Regions from separate parts of the Homo sapiens genome. Here all the other regions are linked to region 3. The links are contacts of gene promoters, found by promoter capture Hi-C in blood cells and fetal thymus (Javierre and others, 2016). All regions are on one chromosome and are shown on one strand. The core of a region is centred on a gene start or on the middle of the fragment in contact, and the rest is flanking DNA. Distances in the headings are between cores, read along the strand shown. Region 1 has its middle 270 kb from the start of LINC01956. Region 2 has its middle 150 kb from the start of THORLNC. Region 3 holds the start of LINC01956 (long intergenic non-protein coding RNA 1956).

Region 1 (3,617 bases), core at 171-2,670, 270 kb before region 3:
GACACGTGTCGAGAATGCCTCTCCGCTTTTACAGGCACTTGTTGAAGGAAAGTGTTACCACAGGTAACAGGAATCCAAACCGGTGTTTTCTTGGCTTTTCGCAAAGGATTTCAGGCCCAGGCTCCTGCCCACTCTCACCATCCTGCAACCCTCCTCATAATCAAATCCATAAGCTTTGTTGCCAATTATTGGCCTCTGCAGCAGAATGATGGGGAAGAAAAGCAAGGACAGGCACTCTCTGGCATGAGGCGGCTGGGGTTTCAGTACTGCCTTCTCTGTGTATCTTCCCAAGGCAGCACCAAATAGAGACAGACAGAACCCCTGACAGCATCACAGCCTCGCTCAGACGCCTGGCCATTCCAGGCATGGAACACACCCCAGAGACCCCTGGGGCCAGAATCTGGTGTACCGCTAGTGGGAGGAGAAAGCCCAGGGGAAGGCCGCATGTTTTGTGGGATTTCAAGAAGACTTTCCAGATAACTAAGGGTTAACCCTTTAAGAACCAAAGCTTGACAACCCCTCCCCTCCGCAGATTCACTCTTTTTGTTAGAAACCTTCCCAGATAGAAAGAATATGCACTCCCAGCTTCCTTCCTTCAGTAGAGCCTACACGTGTCATTTATTTTGATCATAATGGCCCAGGGTCATCACCGGAATATGAATGAGTGCATCTAATTGAACCACTTGAACAATCCTCTCAACACTGGGTCCCTTGGCTCCACGTGTGCTTTTTACTTTTTGTTTTTCTTAAGTCCATTTTTCTCTCAGACTTCAGATTTGATAGCTTGGCTTTTTGAAACAAATATTTGGTGTATCCCCTGCTTTGTTTCTTGGCTAACTCATCTATTCTAACTTGGGAGCCAATTTTTTAACTGTCTTGGATTCCTCTGGATTTCACATGAGCTAAACTCCTGCCAGAGAGGAAGATGGATGTAACTAGATTGTATAAAAATATTTGCTTCTATAGTCAATGATCCCTTTCTTCAAGTACTTTTAAATTCTTATGCCAGCTTCTTAATACTTTTCACCTTTTGCATTTCTACTAGCTTGGTGTCAGACTATCACTTGTGCAGCTGCATAAGTACCTGCCCTAGCTGTTTCTTGCCTGCTACAGGGTTTTCTGCTGCAGGCTATAACATCAATTAGCCGAGCATGTTGGAATTGTACACAAACTAAGAATTAGTAAGGTCTGAGCAAGAACTTGGGTTCATGCCTGTGGCAATGGCTTGGAGGCCTGGTTCCCTGTGCCTGGTCGTAGTCTGCATAGCTGATGTGATACTGGGACTTGCTTTTTAAATATTAGTTAAATCATTGCCACAATACATTTTATCCGTGTTCCTATAATTCCCATGTAATGAAGAAATATCACCTCATCACTAGAAGGGACACAGATCATCTATTCAAAGCCAAGCATGTGACAGAGGAAGAAGGAGGGGCTCAAGGTGAGGATAAATGGCTTGCTAGAAATCTCATAGCTTGCTTGGACAGATCCAGGACTCTCTTATATGTTCTGGCTCTCAGTTGAATCTCTTTACACAACGCCAGTGGTTTAAATCTTCATTCATTCATTCACTCGTCATGTATTTGCCGCAGAAGCCCAATATGTATCAATACAATGGATTAAAAGGGATCTGCTCAGACACTTCTTACCCATGGGGAGTGCCTGAAGCATCTCCAAAGAAACCTGGAGCTTTTAGGACCCAGTCTGAAAACGGATACCCTAGATTCTATGCACTATATAATCCTGCCCAGATTTAGATGAACAAAAATTATATTCTCTATGTTTGGGAAATGGTCAAACTGACCAAAGAGGTCAGGTGGTGTGTCCAAAGCCAAAGAGAATTGATGTCACAAAGCCTGGAATCTGGCCCTGCCTCCCAGCCCTCTATGCTTCTCGTATATTCTCCATTCCTCTCTCCACAGCAGAGAGGGATTCTATATCCCTAAGAGGAGCAAGCCTTTGAAGTGGAGGCACTGGTCTGGAAATGATGAGGCTTCTGGATGAGCCACTGGAGAAAAGCAAGCGGTACCTCTTGCTTTGTTCACATCCTAGTTGGTACCCAGATGCTTGGTATTATTCAGCCCTTGGAGCCTTGCTGGATTCTAAAGAATGACTTAAAGCAACTGACATAGGGTGCCTAAAACTTCAGGCAGTTGTGTTAATGGACATTAAGATAGTCATCCACTCCCAACAGCAAAGCCAAAAAATGTACAGAAGTCAAACAATCTACGAGGTCAGGATCCTCAAAAACTGGATTACCACAATAGCCCCATAGCTTGTCCTCTGCCTCTTCTCCCTGTCTTTCCCAAATAGCCTCTACACTGTCACAAAAGTAAGCTTTCTGGTGGCACATGACTGTAATCCCAGCTACTCGGGAGGTCGAGGCAGGAGAATCACTTGAACCCAGGAGGCAGAGGTTGCAGTGAGCCGAGATTGCACTACTGTACTCCAGCCTGGGTGACAGAGAGATACTCTGTCTCAAAAAAACAAAAATAAGCAAACAAACAAAAAACAAAAGTAAGCTTTCCAATTATATACTCAGAAACCTCCACTAACTCTCTGTTGCTTATAGGGAAATAAACAGCTCCACTCTTCATCAGATATTAGAAGATATATGTAGCTTAAACTCTGAACCTATCCAAATTCATTTCTCAATACCCCTATTTGGGTAGCTGATCCCAAACTCAGCTACAAACATACCTCATGTTGTGTTGGTTGGGACCGTTGAACATTCCGTTTATCTACAGAAGAGTTCTTTCCTTTTGGAGCCAAAGACCCAAATCCTACTGATATTCCGAGTCCCATTGCAAATGCCCATGCTACCGAGAAGCAATCGCTGGATTCTCTAAACCCCTTCATATTTTATTTGTACCTCTCTCTAGGCATTTATCACACTCTATTTTGTATCACTATTATTTATAGATATGTCAAATCTCAACTTTCAGACCATTTTTTTAAAAACTAGGATTCTCCTTTGGTTTATTTTTACATCCTTTGCAGGATTTAGTAGTGCCCTGGTCCCAGTAGATTTACTGTGGCAGAGTAGGAATTGCATGGAACTTTTAATCTCAGAGGCTTGGGTTCAAATTCTGACTCAGCTACCCACTAGTTGCATAACCTTAACCAAGTTGTTCAACCATCCTGAGCCTCAGTTTCCTCATCTGAAGAGAGAGAATAATAATTTCTCCCTTTCAGGAAACTTGGTGAGAACATAGGTAAGATGCCTGGCATAGTTCTTTGCATAAATAAATAAATAAATAAATAAATAAATAAATAAATGGGCTTGTTAATAGGTATTTTTGGAAAAAAGTGAGTAATACAGACAGAATGTGTGAGACAAAGATCCAGCTATATAGGCAGTGACATGTGGGAGTTCTCCTCTGTTGAAATTCACAAAACCTGAAGAATAGTCTTTCTCCCTTCTGACTAAAATAAAACAACATCCTCAGATAGGAGATCTTGGTTGGCTCGGCTGCTACTCCTTCCCGAAGCTGACCCTTCACTTCTTCAAGCTTTGGGGTGGTGCATCTAGTTCCCCCAGTTCTCTGTCTAAACCCCAGGGTGCAGATGCTTAAATATGGCCCCCAGATGGTGCAGAGAAGAAGAGGACAGCATCA
Region 2 (3,380 bases), core at 452-2,951, 500 kb before region 3:
AGACCCTGGGACAGAAGCATCCAGCTAAGCCATGCCAGTTTCCTGAGACCTATAAGAAACTGAGATAATAAATGTGTGCTATTTTAAAATGCTATGTTTTGAGGTATTTTATTACACAGTAAAGGATAACTAATGCAGTTAGAATTTGGGTAAGCTAGAATTTGAACTTAAAACTTATGTGACCCTAAACCCATCTTCTTTCTATGCTACCTTCTTTCTATGCCATTCTGAACATTTATCAAACATTTTTTATGTGCTGGCTGTCATGATAGGCACTGGGGATGCAAAGACACAGTTCTCTTGGAGCAAGGAATCTTTATGAGGAGGTAGCATTTGAAATGACTACTTCAAATGTCTTGCCTCAAATGAAGAATGGAACCATGTCTCAAGTAGGTGGAAGATTGTGAGCATGGGTAGAGGAGATGTAATATACTTGGCCTATAATGAATAGAGTAGCTGGGCCAGAGGGAAGGTTCTCATCTGTGGCTTATAAAAAAGGGCTCCAATGCAAACCTCATGTACCTTCAAGATATAGCTAAAAAATGCCAATTTTCTTATGTACATTTATACTAGCATTCTTTTTAATAAAAGTAATGTTATTATATGAAAGATTCTGAAAGATAATATCTCAAGATCTCTGTGAATTAATATGAATTGATTTCCATGGTATATTCTTAAGTGAGTAAAGCAATGTGCAGAATAGTAGTACACCAGCTATTAAATAAGAAACATTGAAAAGATAAACTGGGATGTAGCCCCCTCTAAGAAAAATGCTTATCTTTGGAGCAAGATAGAGGGTAAGAGTGGTGAGGAGAGAGATAAGCATTGTTGTATCTTTTAAAATATTTTATATTGACAGATTATAGTTGTGTATATCTATGGGATACAAAGCGATGTTATGATTTTTTTATATGACATGAAATTATTAAATTAAGCTAATTAATCTATTCATTACCTCAAGTATTTGACTTTTTGTGATAAGAACATTTGAGATGTATTCTCTTAGCAATATTGAAATGTACAGTACTCAATTATTAGCTATATTCAAAATGCTGTGCAATAGATCTCAAAAAAATTTCAAACTGATTCCTCCTAACTGAAGCTTTGTGCCCTCTGATTATCATCTCCCCACTACCCTATCTCCCAGCCTCTGTAGCTACCATTCTTTTCTCTGCTTCTATAAGTTCAGTTGTTTTAGATTCCATATACAAGCAAGAACATGTGACATTTATCTTTCTGTTTTTGGCTTATTTTACTTTGCATAATGTTCTTCAATCCCATTCACGTTGTTGCAAATGTCACAATTTCTTCCTTTTTAAAGAGTGAATAGTATTCCATTGTGTATACATACCACATTTTCTTTATCAATTCATCCATTGATGGACACATAAGTTGATTCCATAAATTGGCTATCATGAACAGTGCTGCATGAACATGGGTGTGCAGATGTCTCTCTCTCTGTTTTTTTTTTCTTTATTTTTATTTTTTTGAGATGGAGTTTCGCTCTTGTCACCCAGGCTGGAATTCAATGGCGTGATCTCAGCTCACTGCAACCTCCACCTCCCAGGTTCAAGTGATTCTCCTTGCCTCAGCCTCCTGAGTAGCTGGGATTACAGGCACCTGCCACCATGCCCAGCTAATTTTTGTATTTTTAGTAGAGATGAGGTTTCACCATGTCGGCCAGGCTGGTCTCAAACTTTTGACCTCAGGTGATCCACTCAGCTCAGCCTCCCAAAGTGCGGGGATTACAGGCGTGAGCCATCGTGCTTGGCCTAGATGTCTCTTTAACATATCAATTTTAAATACTTTTTCAAATATTTTCAACCTGAGTACCCAGAATTTGGATTGCTCGATCATATGGCAGTTCTATTTTTAGGTTTTTGAGGAACTTCCATGCAGTTTCCCATAATGGCTACACTAATTTACTTTCCCACCAACAGTTATAAGTTTTCCCTTTTCTTTGCATCCTCAAAAATTCTTACCTTTTTTTTTTTTTGATAATAGCCACTGTAACAGGTATGAGGTGGCATCTCACTGTGGTTTTTATTTGCATTTCTCTAATGATTAGTGATGCTGAGCATTTTTTAATGTGTCTGTTAGTCATTTGTATGTCTTCTTTTGAGAAATGTCTGCTCAAGTCTTTTGCTTTTAATCAGATTATTTGTTTTCCTTCTATAGAGTTGTTTGAGTTTTTTATGTATTTTGGATATTAATCGCTTATCAGATGTAAGGCTTGCAGATATTTTCTCCCAATCCGTAGGTTGTCTCTTCACTCTATTAATTGTTTTCTTTGTTGTGCAGAAGCTTTTTATGTTGATGTAATACCATTTTTCTAGTTTTGCTTTTGTTGCCTGTACTTTAGGGGTCAAACCTAAAAAAAAGTAATTGTTCAGACCTATGTTATATGGTTTTCTCATACATGTTTTCTTATAGTAGAAATACAGTTTCACGTTTTATGTTTAAGCCTTTATTTTGAATTCATTTTTGTATATGGTATGAAACAAAGGTCGATTTCATTTTTTGGCATATGAATATTCAGTTTTCCCAACTCCATTTATTGAAGAGACTGTCCTTTTCCCATTGTATATTTTTGGTACCTTTGTGGAAAATCAATTGAACCCATGGATGCATGGGTTCATTCCTGTGCTTCCTATTCCATGGCACTAGTTGATGTGTCTATTTTTATGCCAGCACCATGCTGCTTTAACTACCATTGCTTTGTGGTATAGCTTGAAATCATGTAGTGTGATGCCCTCAGCTTCGTTCTTTTTGCTCAGGATTGCCTTGATGATTTGGGGATTTTTGTAGTTCCACATGAATTTTAGGATTATTTTTTCTATACCTAAAAAAATAACATTAGGATTTTAATAGGAATTGCACCGAATCTGAGGATCATTTTGGGTAGTATGGACTCTAGCAATATTAATTCTTCCAATTCATGAACACCAGATATTTTTCCATTTATTTGTGTCTTCTTTAATTTCTTTCATGAATGTTTCATAATTTAGAGTGTGCAGGTCTTTTGCCTCCTTGTTTAAATTTATTCATTATTATTTTTTTTTGTAGCTATTGTAAATGGGATTGCCCTCTAGATTTCTATTTTGAAAAGTCTGCTGTTAGTGAAGAGATGCTATTGATTTTTCATGTTGATTTTGTATACTACAACTTTACTGAATTTATTTATCACTTCTAGTAGGTTGTTTTGGTGTATTCTTTAGGGTTTTCTATATAAAAGATCATGTCATCCACAAACAGTGACAGTTTCACTTCTTTCTTTCCTATTTGGATGTCTTTTATTTCTTTCTCCTGCCTTATTGCTCTAGCAAGAACTTCTAATACTATGTTGAATAGAAATAATGAGAACAGACATCTTTGTCTTG
Region 3 (3,440 bases), core at 777-3,276:
CTGGTGGCCGGTCCTGTTTGGGGCCAAAGTTTGCATGCGATGGGCACAAAGGACTCTGCGCCTCCTTTCCCTAACCCCAAGCCCTGGGCGGTCGGAGAACCCAAGACGGGTTCAATCCCGAAAAGCAAACTTTGTTAACTTCTGGCTGAATTTGGCACGGCGGAGGGGGGAGTGGGCAATAATCCCTCCATTCTCCCCTCCACCAACACCCAGGGTCCCTCACTTACATCGCAGTCCCCAAGTCAACACTCGACTTGTCACTTTGCACCACAATGCGGTCAGCCCTGTGAGGACATGAAGAATGGATATGAAACTCGAGGCCAGATAAGCGTGGAACTAGGTTCAGCCGTCCTCCCTGGGGTACCTACCTCCCTACTCCCGACAGAGCTGTGAGCCTCCGCCTGCTGAGAGGAGGGCACTTGGGCGGACCTGAAGTTAAGAGGCCCGGGGTGAAGGCCAGAGCTCAATCTGCAGGGATAGAAGGCGCGGGAAATCCAGCAAAGGATGGAAGAACAGTCCCTGCCAGGCCGCGGCCTCCTCGCCCCCGCCTGCCCGGCCTCACCCTTCTGGAAGTTCCTCCAGGCCTGGGTGGGGGCCGCCAGGGAAGGCGCAGAGGGAGGGCAAGTTGGCGCCGCTAGTTTTAGAGAAATCCTAAGTAAACAGTGAACCCGAGCAGGAAACCTCAGCTTTGCCTGGGTAAGAGAACTGGCCACACAGCTCCAAGAAAGGAGAGGAGGAGAACAAATCTCTGCGCCCTGAGGATGGTGGCTTTATTGCGGAAAGAGGTGGTGGGGCCGGAGCTGCTCTGCAACTTCCTCTCGCCCCCTCAAAAAAAAAAAAAGTATCCCGCAGCGAGGATTTCAGAAGGGGCTCACCTGGTGCAGGAAAAGTTCAGTTGGCAGCCCTTCGCGAGCAGGTCCTCCCCAGCCCGCACCGAGAAGGCAGGCGCCCGGGCCCTCTGACTCCAGTGGCTCAGAGCCGGCTCAGGACTGGCAGGGCGAGGAGCCGGCGGGCCGAGCCAGCGAGGGTTTGGGCTGCCCGCGGTGTGTGTGCAAGAGCGCGCGCCTCGTGTAACCATTCAGGACCAGTTGAAGCAACACAAATAAAGTCAGGTCTCTTCAGCCTTGCTGTCCACCCCTCCCCCTCTTCCTGGTTTGACCCTGGCCTGGCCGCTCTGAGGCCCAGTTTGCGCAGCCGACATTGCGTGGCTACTCTCATTACCAGGGGAAGGGCGCTCCCCTTTTCCCTGGTAATACTCCGGGAGCCCCTACTCGGAAGCCCAAGAGTCAAAGGGATACAGGGGTGACTGGAGAGCAGCGGGGGACAGCGTGGCCTCACCCAAGGTCAGCGCTGGTCCCCACGTGTCGGCCGGGGGAGGGGAGGGGAGCGGACAGTCGGAGCGTTCGGATGTCCAGTTGAGCCGCGGCGCGGGGCAGCCGGGGGCGCAAAGTTGGAGGCAGGGCTGGGCGACGAGGAGAGAGGGAGGGCCGGGAGCCGAAGGGACGCCCGGGTGCACCCCGCTGCAGAGGCCGAGTCCGAGCGGCCGGAGAAGGCTGGTCGCAGAAGGGCGGCCTCCGGTGCAAAAAACGGAAACCTTGGAGCAGAGGATGAGGAGGAATACGGAGGCGGGGAGCCCACAGAAAAAGATGTTGAGGAAAGAAGAGGAGACCCCGGCCTAAACAAATCGAAACTGTGCAATGAACGTGGCCCGGGAGAACCGGGGGTGAGGGGCGATGGCTGGAGCTGCGGCCCAAGCACAGCTTTCAGACGCTTGCCCGGACCCTGGCGCGGGGAGGCGGCCGGGACTGCCTTTCTGCGCGCGTCCCTGGAGAGCGGGTGGGCAGGACCTGCGCCCCGCGGTGGGCAAGAAGATTTGGGGTTTCGCAGTTCCTGGGGTCGGGGGCGGGGGTGAAGTGCCCTCAGAGACCTCGGCGGAGCCCCAGTTGCGCTCCCATCTCCAGCCCCCACTGGAGAGAGGGGGTCCAGGGCCGTACCCTCCTGCGGCCTGGGCTGCGCTGACCGGAAGTGCCTGTAAGAAGCGCCCTCCGCGGACCGTGCCGGGCGCGGGCAGCTCCAGCCGGGTTGGAGCAAGGCCAAGACGCCCGGATGGGGCGGGCCGTTTCGGCGGACCCAGTCTGGACGCAGGTGCGGGAGGAAAGTGTGAGGGGGGAAACTGCTGATTGTGCGGGGATAGGGGCATCTTAATCTGGGAAAAGATCGGAATCTCTTGGGACGCTAATCTGAGACCCGGGTCGGAGGTGTAGAGTAGGGGTGTGTGAGCAGGAACTCGGACCTGAGTTACAGAGTAAGAGGGAAGAGGGCTGGAGAGGTGCTGAGGCTACTCCTAGTTAAGACTGAAGGAGAGGAGAGGAGGGATAACAGCCCTTCACGCAAATCAGTGCTCCCCCTGCTCCCCCAGGTGCCAAAGTCCAGGACCAATGTGGAGACTTGACACTGCGCTATGCGACTGCGAATCATTCTTCTATTTATAAGTAACTACAGTATAGACTTCAACGTGATTTGGTGAGACCTTAGCAGGATGACCCTGGACCTCACTTTTCTTATCTGTAAGGTGGGGATTATAATAGGCAACACACAGAAATGTATGTTGTTGAAGGAAATAAATTGTGTTAAATGGCTAGCAATGTGCACGGAAGACCCTCAGTGATTAATGATCATGTTAATTTTGAATTTCTGGGAGTGACATCTTCTGAATTGCCTGCACTCTGCTAAATGGACAAGTCCTGTACCTGGAGGTGAAGGGGCGGGGGAAGGGCAAGGAGAGCCCTGCTGTGGTCGTTACTGGGACTCGCTTTTGTTTTCTTCAGGATTCAGTATTGAAATTGGGAGTGTGGAGGCGGCTTCTCCCCAGCTCTCTCCGTCCAGTTTTCCACTGTGTTCTATTTATCAGATGGCAGAGCCGTGGGTCTCGCTGCAGGAAATGGTTGCTGTCAGGGCCCGATTGCTGCTGTCAGGGCCCAAGCCCACTCTTGCAGTAGTCGTGGTTGAATCAGAAATTCTCCTGGGTCCCTTCTGTCTTTGGACTCTCATCTCTCTCACAGGAGGCTCCCGCCCCTCTGCGCTGGTCCTGGAGGCCTGCAGACCAGGTCTTCAGGAGGAGGGGAGGATGCGAGCACCCCAGATGGAGCTTTCTCCGTGCGCTTGTGTGGTGGCAGGGGGCAGAGAGGAATCTAAGTTGTGCCCGGCTTTATACCCCACTCCTCATCAGAGTTGAGGAGGGGGAGGCGAGTACTCACTAGTCTCCTCTACAATCCCCTGCCCCCTCCTGGCACTCCCACCCACCTGCCTGCCAAAGGCAGAGTCACAGGCTGTTGATAAGAATACTCTCTTCAGGATGTGTGTGCATGCACACACACAATACATTTCTGCTTTTCTATTGGGTCACACATACCTAGAGTCTTCCATTACTATAGCCTGAA

What was found. The method cuts DNA at HindIII sites, captures the fragments that hold promoters and counts their contacts. A CHiCAGO score of 5 or more calls a contact.
Region 1: a contact is called between a fragment that was not itself captured here and the fragment with the promoter of LINC01956 in region 3, in 1 of 17 cell types (endothelial precursors). The highest score is 5.2, in endothelial precursors.
Region 2: a fragment that was not itself captured here is called in contact with the fragment with the promoter of LINC01956 in region 3 in 1 of 17 cell types (endothelial precursors); the score reaches 5.1 in endothelial precursors.

Annotation. Positions count from the first base shown.
Region 1 is chr2:118,565,143-118,568,759 of GRCh38, forward strand. No RefSeq gene overlaps it. Among named protein-coding and RNA genes, the nearest start is that of LINC01956, 270 kb to the right of the region's middle. The HindIII fragment of the contact is 1,829 bases long and covers 507-2,335 here.
Region 2 is chr2:118,334,245-118,337,624 of GRCh38, forward strand. No RefSeq gene overlaps it. Among named protein-coding and RNA genes, the nearest start is that of THORLNC, 150 kb to the left of the region's middle. The HindIII fragment of the contact is 1,202 bases long and covers 1,101-2,302 here.
Region 3 is chr2:118,834,120-118,837,559 of GRCh38, forward strand. LINC01956 (long intergenic non-protein coding RNA 1956) reads right to left here and starts at 2,027. Exons shown (of 3, transcript NR_199712.1): 1 at 369-2,027; 2 at 228-284; 3 at 1-13. The HindIII fragment of the contact is 14,254 bases long and covers 1-3,440 here.